Linked DNA regions of Homo sapiens: region 2 is linked to region 1. Evidence: promoter capture Hi-C in human tissues and cell types (Jung and others, 2019). All regions are on one chromosome and are shown on one strand. Each heading gives the region's core, a stretch centred on a gene start or on the middle of the fragment in contact. The rest is flanking DNA. Distances are from core to core; before and after follow the strand shown. Region 1 holds the start of SPPL2C (signal peptide peptidase like 2C). Region 2 overlaps LINC02210-CRHR1 (LINC02210-CRHR1 readthrough).

What was found. Contacts are between HindIII fragments. The study calls those that stand out against the background at their distance.
Region 2: a fragment that was not itself captured here is called in contact with the fragment with the promoter of SPPL2C in region 1 in 3 of the 25 tissues and cell types used here (lymphoblastoid cells, psoas muscle and spleen).

Annotation. Positions count from the first base shown.
Region 1 is chr17:45,840,992-45,847,899 of GRCh38, forward strand. It overlaps SPPL2C (signal peptide peptidase like 2C), which reads left to right and starts at 3,890. Exons shown (of 1, transcript NM_175882.3): 1 at 3,890-6,076. The coding sequence starts at 3,916. The coding sequence ends at 5,970. It overlaps MAPT-AS1 (MAPT antisense RNA 1), which reads right to left. Exons shown (of 2, transcript NR_024559.1): 2 at 2,365-3,170. RefSeq lists enhancers at 3,812-4,796, 4,797-5,780. The HindIII fragment of the contact is 11,226 bases long and covers 1-6,908 here.
Region 2 is chr17:45,764,823-45,771,318 of GRCh38, forward strand. The region is part of intron 3 of LINC02210-CRHR1 (LINC02210-CRHR1 readthrough); the gene reads left to right. Among named protein-coding and RNA genes, the nearest start is that of CRHR1, 16 kb to the right of the region's middle. The HindIII fragment of the contact is 6,380 bases long and covers 1-5,628 here.

The sequences.
Region 1 (6,908 bases), core at 2,640-5,139:
ACGAAAATTAGCTGGGCATGGTGGTGGTGCATGCCTGTAATCCCAGCTACTCGGGAGGCTAAGGCAGGAGAATCACTTGAACCCGGGAGGTGGAGGTTGCAGTGAGCTGAGATTGTACCACTGCACTCCAGCCTGAGGGACAAGAGCGAAATTCCATCTCAAAAAAAAGTCCCATTTCAACCATGTTAGTGCACAATTCAGTGACTTTAAATACACAATGTCGTGCAACTGAAACCACTGAGATAGAAAAAGTTCTGGAACTTCTTCATCACCCCAGATGGAAATCCCATACCCACCAGTCACTCCTCATTCTCCCCTCCCCCAGCCCCTGCCCGCCACGAATCTGCTCTCTGCCTCTGTAGATCTGCCTGTTTTGGCTGTTTCACGTAAGTGGAATTAATCGTACAATATGTGTCCTTTTGTGTCTGGCGTCTTCATTTAGCATAATGTGTTTCCACTTAGCATAATGTGTTTCGGCTTAGCATAATGTTTTCAAGGTCCATCCACATGGTAGCAGGTATCAAAACGTCATTCCTTCTTATGGCTGAATGCTATTCCCTTGTGTGGAGAGACCGCAGTTTCTCCATTCATCAGTGGATGGACATATGGGTTCTCTCCACCTATTCCAAGTTATCATGAATAGTCCTGCTATGAGCATGCATGTACACGCTTTTGTTTGAAGGCCTGATTTCAATTCTTTGGGATATATAGCTGGGAGTATAAGTGCTGGGTCATATGATAACTCTGCTTAACTTATCTAGGAACCACCAAGCTGTTTCCTGCAGCGGCTGCACAATTTTCCATTCCCACCAGCAGTGTATGAGGGTCCCAACTTCCCTATATCCTCGACAAAGCTTGTGATTGTCTGGGTTTTGTGACAAAGTGGGTGTGCTGGTTCTTGTTTTTTAAAAGATCCACGACTCCCTGCGTGGAGAACAGGGCCTGGAGTGAGGGTCTAGGTTGCCCATTCGTTGCTGGGGGGCCAGAAAGGGTTTTACTGTCACAGCCCTCCTGTGGCCTACAGGCGAGCCTCCCTCTCCTAACCACCCTCCTGCCAACCTCCCCTTTGAAATGGGAGCACTCGGAAGGGACAGCTGGCAGCCTCCTCCCCTGGGCTCTGCCTGCTTCTCCTCACACCGGCTGGTGGTTTGTTTGCCAGTCACTTGTATTTGTTCCTGAACATGTTTCTGACAGTTCACTTGTCATTGTAATTACTGTCGTAATCTAACTAAATGTTATATTACTGATGAATCAGAAGTGCACTAACAAGGAGAGATGTTTCTTATGAAAATTCAGTCTAATGCTTTGAAGGATACTTTACAAATGAGTCACCAAAAATATTGGCAAATTAGGTGTGGGTGAGATGAGTGTAAATAACTGGGTGAGAGAGAATTGTCAGAATCTCAGATGGGTTCCACTTGCTGACCACTTCACATGGCCCTTTAAACTCACCCTCCACTTCAAAGAATCCACAGCTGATGTTGGAGATGATGTTTCATCCCTGTGGATTTCCCAAGGAAAGCAGTTTGGGACTGCAAGAGATGGACCCGTAATAGAAGGAGAGGCCTTGACAGGCACGGTGGCTCACGCCTGTAATCCCAGCACTTTGGGGGACCAAGGTGGCTGGATCACCTGAGGCCAGGAGTTTGAGACCAGCCTGGCTAACATGGTGAAACCCCATGTCTACTAAAAATACAAAAATTAGCCAGGTATGGTGGTGGGCGCCTATAATCTCAGCTACTTGGGAGGCTGAGGCAGGAGAATCGCTTGAACTTGGGAGGTGGAGGTTGCAGTGAGCCAAGATTGTGCCACTGCACTCCAGCCTGCCTAGGGGACAGAGTGAGACTCCATCTCAAAGAGAAAAGAAGGAGAGTCCTTGAGAAAGATCAGTGATTGGCCAGGCACAGTGGCTTGTGCCTGTAATCTCAGCACCTCGGGAGGCTGAGGTGGGCGATTCACTTAAGGCCAGGAGTTCGAGACCAGCCTGGGCAAAATGGTGAGACACCATCTGTACTAAAATCACAAAAATTAGCTGGGCATGGTGGCACACACCTGTAATCCCAGCTACTCGGGAGGCTGGGTCGGGGGAGAATTGCTTGAAACCAGGAGGTGGAGTTTGCAGTGAGCTGAGATCGTGCCACTGCACTCCAGCCGAGCAACAGAGCAAGACCCTGTCTCAAAAAAAAAAAAAAAAAAAAATCAGCATGCTTACTCCTTAGAGGTTAAAATTACATGTGTGTTGTGGGGCTGCCCACAATTGTGCCCCCAAATAGGCATGTTGAAGTCCTAAACCCCAGTACCTGTTAATGCGACCTTATTTGGAAGTAGGGTGTTTGCAGACATAATCAAGTTAAGATGGTGTCATTAGGGTGGGCCCTAATCCATTATAACTATGTCTTTATAAAGAAGAGAAGAGACACAGAGACACACAGGGAGAATGCCATGTGACAACCTATGCAGAGACTGGAGTGACAGGCCAGGCCAGTGGGGAGAACATGAGGACAATGGAACCTGGACTGCCAAGCTCCAGCCCCCAAATCCCTCCCTTCTGGTTCCGGAGGCCCCAGGGTTACTCTCCCGCACACTAACTGCTTTGAAAACCTCATTCCTCAAATCTACTCCATCATGGGTGGCCTGAAGAAGCCTGGACAGGAGGTCCTGGGTGACCTGTGAGGGCATACACCACAGAGCTGGGTGCAAACCTGCAGAGCCAAAACCTGGGGCTCCTGGCTTCAAATCCACCTCTCACCAGTATTTGAGTTCTCTTTCCAGCGGAAAGTCTGCCCGGCCTCAGAGTTGCAGCCAGGAGAGTGGCTCAGAATCCAGCATGAAAACATTTGGAAGACATCAAGGTCCATTTAACCAGCACAAGAGCCCCAGCCTTCTTTGCTGTGTCAATGTGGGCTTCTCCAAGCCTCAGTTTTACTTATCCATGAAGTGGGTGTATTAAGGTAACGTTAAGTGGCTATAACAAAGAGACTCATGACAAATCAATGCCTTAAGGAAGATCATGTCTCTCTCTTGTAACAGTCCATAGTGCACATCCTGGGCTACTGTTCCACATGGAATCCAGGGACCTGGTTCCCTTCACTTTCTTCCTCTCCATTCCTTAGGACATTGTCCTCCTCGTCATAGACAGACACATCACAGGCCCGTCCTTGTTCTGACTCCTGAGAAAGGGAAAGAGAGGGTAAACCAGGAGCCCCACGGTCTGTCAGCCTAAGCCCCTGATGTAAAGAGTTCACATCATTTTTGCTTAATTTCTCCTGGTCACCTGTCCGTTCCCAACTGTAAATGGAGTTGGAGGTGAATTCTGGTCATGTGCCTGGTAGAAATGGGGACCAACTTTGAGGGACAGCCTCAGGCTGTGCAGATATAATGACACCTCCTTGCAACTGTGCAATAGGTACAGCTAGGGTACCTGGCGCCTAGTAAGCCCTCGGTAAAAGTGCTCAATGTTACTGAGCTCAGAGCTCCAAGGGACCTTAGAAACTCTCTGGCCCAACGTCCTCATTTCTTTACAGCTAAAGAAACAGGCCTAGAGAGGAGTGACATTGGCCTGTGTTCCCCATGGGTAAGGAGAAAAGTTGGTTCAGAATCCTATCTGGCCTGCAAACCCCATGCTCACACCTTTTATTTCAAAGTACCTGGTCTAAACCCACTAGGGTCTGGGCAGAGAGCAGGGTCCATATGACCTCTCCCCTGGTCTCCCAGGGTTGGGGGGCATCATTCTAGAGGGACCCTGTGCCCCACAGCAGCGCCCTCGGCTGGGGACCACACAGCTTTATGACTAGGTAGGTGTGGCCCTGGTTTCCAGGACAGGTGGCCAGACTGCTCTGTGACAAAGGGCCACGCCTGCCCCTGGGAGGGGTATTGGGCTGCCGCCCGCAGATGTTGCAGTAGGAACTGAAGAAGATGGCGTGCCTGGGCTTCCTCCTCCCCGTGGGCTTCCTCCTCCTCATCAGCACCGTGGCCGGGGGAAAGTACGGCGTGGCCCACGTGGTGTCGGAGAATTGGAGCAAGGACTACTGTATCCTGTTCAGCTCCGACTACATCACCCTCCCCCGGGACCTGCACCACGCCCCACTCCTGCCCCTGTATGATGGCACCAAGGCACCCTGGTGCCCGGGTGAGGATTCCCCCCACCAGGCCCAGCTCCGCTCCCCCAGCCAGCGGCCCCTCCGCCAGACCACTGCCATGGTCATGAGGGGTAACTGCAGCTTCCACACGAAAGGCTGGCTGGCTCAGGGCCAAGGTGCCCACGGGCTGCTCATCGTGAGCCGGGTCAGTGACCAACAGTGCTCAGACACCACCCTGGCACCCCAGGATCCCCGCCAGCCCCTGGCAGACCTCACCATCCCTGTGGCTATGCTCCACTATGCTGACATGCTGGACATCCTCAGCCACACTCGTGGGGAGGCCGTCGTCCGCGTGGCCATGTACGCACCCCCAGAGCCCATCATCGACTACAACATGCTGGTCATCTTCATCCTGGCTGTGGGCACAGTGGCTGCAGGCGGCTACTGGGCCGGCCTGACCGAAGCCAACCGGCTACAGCGGCGCCGTGCCCGAAGAGGAGGGGGGTCTGGTGGTCACCATCAGCTGCAGGAAGCTGCAGCAGCTGAGGGAGCCCAGAAGGAAGATAATGAGGACATCCCAGTGGACTTCACGCCGGCCATGACAGGCGTGGTGGTCACCCTGTCCTGCTCGCTCATGCTGCTGCTCTACTTCTTCTATGACCACTTTGTCTATGTCACCATTGGGATCTTTGGCCTGGGTGCTGGCATTGGCCTCTACAGCTGCCTGTCACCCCTGGTGTGCCGCCTGTCCCTGCGGCAATACCAGAGGCCTCCGCACAGCCTCTGGGCCTCTCTGCCGCTGCCTCTGCTGCTGCTGGCGAGCCTGTGCGCAACCGTGATCATCTTCTGGGTGGCCTACCGCAATGAGGACCGCTGGGCGTGGCTCCTGCAGGACACACTGGGCATTTCCTACTGCCTGTTCGTCCTGCACCGTGTGCGGCTGCCCACTCTCAAGAACTGCTCCTCCTTCCTGCTGGCCCTGCTGGCCTTTGATGTCTTCTTTGTCTTCGTCACCCCCTTCTTCACCAAAACCGGTGAGAGCATCATGGCGCAGGTTGCCTTGGGCCCTGCAGAGTCTTCAAGCCATGAGAGGCTGCCCATGGTACTCAAAGTGCCCCGGCTAAGAGTCTCCGCCTTGACCCTGTGCAGCCAGCCCTTCTCCATCCTTGGCTTCGGTGACATTGTGGTCCCCGGCTTCCTGGTTGCTTACTGTTGCCGCTTTGATGTGCAAGTCTGCTCCCGTCAGATCTACTTCGTGGCCTGCACCGTGGCCTATGCTGTGGGCCTGCTGGTCACATTCATGGCCATGGTCCTCATGCAGATGGGCCAACCTGCCTTGCTCTACCTAGTGTCCAGCACCCTGCTCACCAGCCTGGCTGTGGCTGCCTGCCGCCAAGAGCTCAGCCTCTTCTGGACTGGCCAGGGCAGAGCTAAGATGTGTGGGCTCGGCTGTGCCCCTTCAGCTGGCTCTAGGCAGAAGCAGGAGGGCGCAGCAGATGCCCACACAGCCAGCACACTTGAGAGAGGCACCAGCCGAGGAGCAGGGGACTTAGACAGCAACCCTGGAGAAGACACCACTGAGATTGTCACCATATCTGAGAATGAAGCCACCAATCCAGAGGACCGCAGTGATAGCTCCGAGGGCTGGAGTGACGCCCACTTGGATCCTAATGAGCTGCCCTTCATCCCCCCTGGGGCCTCGGAGGAGCTGATGCCACTGATGCCAATGGCCATGCTGATCCCACTCATGCCCCTGATGCCCCCGCCCTCAGAGCTGGGCCATGTCCATGCCCAGGCCCAGGCCCACGAGACTGGCCTGCCCTGGGCGGGACTCCACAAGAGGAAGGGTTTGAAAGTAAGAAAGAGCATGTCGACCCAGGCTCCCTTGTGAACTGGAGGCACTGGGACACACGCCTCTCAAAGGGCTGGTGGAACATTGCAGAGCAAAGCCATGCATGGCAACAAGAAATCAGGGTATCAAAGAGATTTCATATCTACCCAAGGAGTCTCTCTGTTTGTCGGGAGTGCAAGAGAGCAGCAACCACATAATAAGAGTGTGCAGGGCTCGAAGGGTCCTTAGGAGTGGGCACCACCCCCAAATAATGAAGGGGGGAAACTGAGGCTCCAAGAGGGCCTATGACTTGCACAAGTTCAAGCGGCAAGGTCGGGATTTGCATCCAGGGCTCACTGGGCAGCTACTCCCCTCTGCCTGCTTGCCCAACCCCTTCCCAATCCAGAGTGGCAGCTTCTTAGCCTGGCACACAGCCCCCATCCCATCCCTGCCACCCACCCTAGGCTCATTGCCCATCTTCTCTCCATGCTCAGGTCAAACAGAACTCCTTGTCCTCCCCACCCGCTCTCTCTGCATATGCTGTTCCCTCCAGCTGGGATGCCCTTCCCTCTCCAGACAGAAACACTCCAGCCTGGCTCCCTGACTCACTAGAAGATTCCGAAGCATCCTTTACTCCTCAGCTCACATCCATTCTGCAAAACGTCTCTGTTCAAGAATCCCAGGCAGCAGCACCAAGCCCAGCAAGTTCCTGTATGCACCACCCATTCCATCTTCAGGCATTGAGTATGCCCCTACTATGTGCATCGCCATGTGGTGGGCACAGGGAAGGCCTCTGTCTAGCTGGGGGAGGGGGAGGGGTGGGCAGACAAGAAACAAACTTAGAATTGTCTCAAAGAGGTCGGGAGGGGTTGGAGAGGTTGGGCCCAGGGTGGAAGAATTCCGGAGACCAAGGCCTCCCTCACTGACTCTAAGTAATGTTCAAGCCTCGTTGGGTCTCTGTAGTCTCATCTGCAAAATGAGACTTATAATACCATTTC
Region 2 (6,496 bases), core at 1,189-3,688, 78 kb before region 1:
CCTGCCAGACAGAAAACTCTTTGAGGGCAGGAATTATGTGCTGCTCAACTGTTTCCCTAGCATCTGGCATGTAATAGGTCCTCAAAACACATTTATCAGCTGAATTAGTCCAAGATCTTTATTTTATAAAGAAGTAAACTAAGACCTAGGCAGCCACCAGGCCTGGCCCCAGGGTTCACCAGCGAAGCTTGGCAGTGGTGTGTGCCAGCCTAGGTTCCAGCTCCCTGACCCTGAGCTGGCTGCCACAATTGCTGGGTTTTCTCTCAGCATTTCTGTTAACAGTCGAGTAAAGAAAGGACTCAGGTAGGGATAAACTGTAGCTAATACCTCACCTTGGTTAAGCAGATGTCAGGGTGGCCATTTCTGTTCCTACATTAACACCACATTTATGTTACTGGCAGCTGCAGGTTTGCTTTAAGGGCTAATAGGCCCTAACTAGGGTCCTGCCCTGAGCCTAGTTGCATAGAGGATTGTGCTTTCTCTTATTCTTCTGTGTCTCTGACTGCTAGTGCCCTAGTGAGGACAGTAGCCCTCAGTTCAATAAGCGGACTGCTAGTGCCCTAGTGAGGGCAGTAGCCCTCAGTTAAATAAGCTGACTGCTAGTTCCCTAGTGAGGACAGTAGCCCTCAGTTAAATAAGGTAGGTGGAGGGATAGCATCTTGAAGATGAGAGGAGGCCACAGAGAACCTAGTCAGCAAGGAGGCCAGGGCTGACCCCTAAAGGACCCACTTCTCCCAAGTCTTCCTCATGGGCCTTGGGGAGGGGGAGCCTGGAGCTCTGAACCAACCTGGTGGGGACAGGGTGGGGAAAGCAGATGTAGGGAGCTGGAAGAGGGTCCTGGGGCCCCGAGGGCCAACACCACCCCTAGACCTGCTTCTGCCCACCTGCAGAGCCTTCGCCCCAGCCTGGGTTGGTTCCTAGCATCTATGTCTGTGCCCCCAGTGAGTGTGGCCTTGTCTCTACATGGAGTTCACATGCAGGGTGTGGCTTCTGGGGGACAAGGGCGGAATCTTATGTTCGATCGGTTAAACAATTCTGGAGGGGGCATGTTTTGTGTGATGCCTGGAGGGTGGGTGGTGACGGGCACAAAGGTTGTGCCACAGGTAGTTTCCTTTTAGGGCGTTTAGGGTCTTGTGACCCTAGATGTGCCTCTCTACCTTCCCCAGGGCTTAGCAGCTAGGAGGGACCCTGCAGGGGCAGAGTGATCGGTGCCAGCCTGGGGCGGGGCTGTGGGGTGGGCAGCCCCCTTCACAGGCTGTCCATGCACTGGGGTGAGATGGGGCCCAGGGAGGGGTGTGGGGGGAAGGATGATCAGATTTTCCCAATGTGAAGGTGTGGGGCAACAGGGATCCCTATGTTTCTAGAGGAGGGGATGGCAGATGTCACCAGTGCCCTACCCTCGTGCCCTCCACTGGGATGACTCTGAGCTGGGGGTCCCACATGCCTCCCTGAGCTCCTCAATGGGATTAAGGTCCAGTCATCAGGCTTTCCTCCCTCCCCTGCCCGCCTTCCCCACCTCCCTACTGGGACCTCCTGGGATTACCTCCCAAATAAACAACCTGCCCTTGAATCTTTTTCACAGGTCCTGCTTCTGGGGAAACTCAAGACAGTATAAATTGGTGCAATCTATTTGGAGAAAGATTCAGCAATAAGTATCAAAATTATAAATGTACGTGTTCACGGGCCAGCAGCTCCACTTCTGGGAATTTATGCCATAAATATAACCTTTCATATGCCATATGATCTATGAATGAGGTTATTTATGGCAGCACTACTTTTAAGAGCCAAAGATTGAAAACACCTAAATGCCCATCGCTGGGGATGAGTTCGGCAGATCAGGGTTCATTCAACTGGCAGAATATTATGCAATCATTAAAAAGGAATGGAGGGGGCTACTCTTTATGGACTGATTTGGAACAATCTCCAAGATAAATTGCTAAGTGGGAAAAAAAGCAAGGTATAGAAGAGCACGTTTGTATAAAACAAAAAGAATATATAGCCGTAATTGCTTACTTATTGGATCGACGATCTCTGCAAATCTACCAAGAAACTGATAACCTTGGAGCCTGTGGAGAGAGGAATTAGGTGGCTGGGAGTGGGGAAGGGAGGGAGATTTTCAGGATATTTCCTATGCACCTTTTGATTTTTGCATCATGTGCAAGTTTGCATTATCTATTTAAAATGTAGTCTATGCAACTAAAAAAAATTATGAAGAATAATCATATACCTGGGTGCCTGCTATAATGATCAGTCCAATTTTAGCTTGTCTCGGGAAAGTTGAACCCATGGCTGGCAGCTTTCAACCTTCTCTTTCTCATTTACCACTCCCATAAGGTGGTTCTGCATCATTACTCCAGGGTTTCTAAATAATTAAAGTAGGCCTGAGTCCAGCCTTCCCCCAAGATGCTGAGAGTCCAAGCCGTCCTTCCCCTATCCCCTACCTGAGACATCAGAAGCTTCTTAAATAGTCCTGACTATTTAAGGGAAGAAGGACAGTTGCAGCCCTTCCTTTCTCGAGTGATTTGAAATGCAGACCACGGTTTTTGGAGAGGAGGAGATGAGGCAGGAGGCTGGAAGAAATGACCTTTTCACATCAGCTCTTCCTGGGTGGGTACCTATATTCCAGGGGCCTGGCGCAGTACCTGGCGCGTTTGTTGGCTGGCTGGCTGAATGTCTTTTTGTCCCAGAATTCCAGGCATGCAGGAACAAGGGGAAAGATGACCCCTCCTTCCAGTTCCTGGGGTCCTAGTCAATAATGGTTGGTGAGCAGAGCTCTGAAGTTGGACACTTTCGGGTAAAAATCCCAGCTGTAGCCTCCTTACTGCTATGAGACCTTAGGTGAATATCTACCCGAGCCTCAGTTTCCTCATCTACGCAATGGAGACAGAGGCCCCCTTTGCAAAGGATTAAATAAGGTTGCATCGGGGTGCTGCACAGTGTGCCCAGCACATAGTAGGCTTTGCTAGGTGTCTGCATATCTCTCCCCCTCCCTTGGCAGAAGGATGACCACTGCCACTGCTGAGACCAGACACTGTCCCCTCCTTGCCACCCTTGACTTGAGGGTGGAAGGAGGACCACCCTCAAGTCAAGGAGGTCCTCCTTCCATCTAACTGAAAACTCTCCGCTGTTACCCAGGCCGGTGCCCTCCTATGCTACTGTCATGCACAAGAGAAAAAGCTCTCAGCTTGTTCCCACTGAGCCTCTTCCAGATCTGAAGCCCCAAGGAAAGTCAAGGTTGAGTCCTGTGGGCCCAACAATGGGCAGCCCCAGGCCCTCTCTCTTTGCTTCCAATCCAGTCTCATCACTTTTCTCCTCTCTGCCCCCTCCTGGGCAGAGCGACTCTTGGTGCAAGGTCAGCTGTGAGCTGTCCAGGGTCCCTGGGCACACTCCTGCTCCTTCTCTGCCCCATTTCCTTCCCCTGCACCCAGGGAGTTGGGAAATAGCTCAGATTCCGATGACAAGGAGACTGGGCCCTAGGCAGAGCAGTGGCTGACAAGTTGCATGTTACAATAAATCCCCACAATTAGACCCTGCAAACAACACCGCTGCTGTCGCATCCCTAATATACAGCAGGGAGTCGGCTCAGTGTTCCTGGCAACCAATTCTTGAACTAAAAATAGTTGGCTGTGGCTTCACCTTTCCCTCCTCAGCATCCAGTCTCCATAGGTGCCAGGGAGGGAATGACCCTGGTGTCCAGGTCCTGCCCTGGTGCTGGAGGGCAGAGCATCAAGGGTTAACCCAGCCTTCACTAATGTGACTGTCAAGGAATTGCCCGCAGGGTAGGGAGTGGGGGTCTTCTGTGGGGGACGGGAGCCGGCCTGAGCTGTTTTAAAGCAAGTAAGGCTTTTTGAGTAGGCAGCCACCTCCTGAGGCCTCCCAATACCACCTCTTCAGCACCCTCTCGCATCCCCACCCGTCCAGCAGCAGCACAAAGGGGCCCGAAGGTGCAGCATTAGGGAATCTAATGGCCTGAGGAATAAGTTCTCGCCCACTGTGACTCCTTGGGCCAGTCACATCTCTGGATTTCGGCTGCCTCATCTGCAAACGAAGGATTCAATAAGTTGATCTGTTTCTGTCTAGATCCTCAGGCATGGTGAGCCTCACAATGGCAAGTACTCTGTCCCAAGTATGCTCACATGCGTCAAAGTCTCTGAAATGCTGACACGTGGGTGTGCAACCCCCCTCGCAGAGCAGTGGTCAGCACGTACAGAGAAGCAGCCCAGCCCTATGTCAGACCCTCTGCCTTAGAACCACTTGCCAATAATAAATCACCCACCACCCCTATGAAACAGGTGGTTCATGAAGTCTTGTCAATCAGTCATACCTTAGTCTAGAAGTCCTTTCCTGGGAGACAGGGGGAAGCATGGAGTCTGGGGTTCCTCCTGGGGCTGTTGGGATATCAAAAGCCTTACCTGGCTTCCCACCATCCCTGTGGAAATCCCCCAAGTGGAAGCCATGGGCCGCCACAAGACGTGGCCCCAGCCCAGCTTTCCAATCTCAGAACGTCATCCCCTGTCCTGGGGTCCTAGGACTCCTCGCTGTTCCCCAAACAGACGGAGCACAGTCCCACCTCCCGGCCTTTGCTCACAATGGTGCCTCCACCTGGAATGCTGTTGCCCCTTCTCCCCTCTGTCTCTCTCCCCTCTGTCCCCTACATTTCTATGTTGGTAGAAATCCTGCTCATCTTTTAAAGTACAAATGGACCGGGTGCAGTGGCTCACACCTGTAATCTCAGCACTCTGGGAGGCCGAGGCAGGCGGATCGCAAGGTCAGGAGATTGAGACCATCCTGGCTAACACGGTGAAACCCCATTTCTACTAAAAATACAAAAAATTAGCCAGGTGTGGTGGCGGGTGCCTGTAGTCCCAGCTACTCCGGAGGCTGAGGCAGGAGAATGGCGTGAACCCGGTAGGTGGAGCTTGCAGTGAGCCGAGATGGCGCCACTGCCCTCCAGCCTGGGCGACAGAGCGAGACTCCGTCTCAAAAAAAAAAAAAAGAAAAAAGAAAAAAAAGAAAGTACAAGTGCCACCAACTCTTTGATGAAGTTTTCCCTATCCCGTGGCTAGAATGAGCCCCTCAGTGTCCCTCTTCTAACAGCATTTGAAACGATGTAGTTTTGGAACCAGAAGAATCTTAGGGACCATGTACAACAGCGTTTCCCAAGATATTTTGACTGTGACTCATCGTAAGAAATCCACTCTGTTGTGACCCAGCACACACACACACACACACAGAGACACACAAGTGCATAAAACACATGTGCATATACATATAGTCCACACTCAACCATAGACACAAATAGACACACGTACACATACATGCAGGTACCTGTGGAAACATGTACAAGAGATGTGCAGCCAAAAGAAGTTTTTTTGTTTCTTTTTGTTTGTTTGTTTGTTTGTTTGTTTGTTTGTTTTTGAGACAGGGCCTCACTCTGTCACCCAGGCTGGAGTGCAGTGGCACAATCTCAACTCACTGCAGCCTCAATCTCCTGAGCTCAAGCGATCCTCCTGCTTGAGCTCTCAAGTAGCTCGGACTACAGGCATGCACCATCATGACTGGCTAATTTTTATATTTTTGCAGAGATGGGATTTCACAACATTACCCAGGCTGGTCTTGAACTCCTGAGCTCAAGCGATCTGCCCACCTCGACCTTCCAAACTGCTCTGGGGTTGCAGGTGTGAGCCACCGTGTCAGCCCAATAAGTTTCTTTGTGTAATACTTACCTCTATTGTGTGCCGTGTTCTGATGCAGTTGCTTAAAGTTTTTTTCTTTCTTCGAATGTTGGTTCTGACACTAAATTTATCTCCCCATCCTGTAATGGGTTGCAAACTGCAGTTTGGAAAATACTGAACAAGTTCGACCCCTTATTTGCAGATAGAAGTACCAAGGTCCAGAGGGAGGAAGGGACTGGATCAAGGTCATGCAGCCAGTTGGTGGCCAGACTCGGACCACAGTCCAGTGTCCTTGATTCACAGCAGCGACCTTTCCTCTGTCACAGAGCCGCTGATGCTATAGCTATTCCTGCAAGGTTGCAGCTCCACAAGTGAAAGGACCTTGTCCCCAGCACCCCCCACCCTGCCCCAAGGGCCTTGTCTATAGTAGGTGCCCAATAAACGGCTCCATTGGACTGACTGCACAATGATGCAAAAGTGGTTTGGAAGTCAATGAGGTCTCTGCTGGAGTGAGGGGTTAATACATTCAGCTGCTGCGGCCTGGAGACAAGGTCAGCTTTAGCTCATTAGTGGGGCTGGGCTTTCCCAGGGCTTAGGGATTCTGCAATTCACAGTGGAGCAGAAATCCTGCGGCTGAGCTGAGGGGGAGGGGCAGAGACAGGGAGGAAGGGAGGCTGGAAGAGAGGTGGAGATCGATCAGCAGGGAGGGGACGTTTTGGGGAAGGAAGGTGGTCAGGGTGGCTGTGATGGTGACAGCGGGTGGCAGGATATGACGGGATATGAGGGGGTCTGCAGCTCATTGAAAATCTGAACAAGCTCCA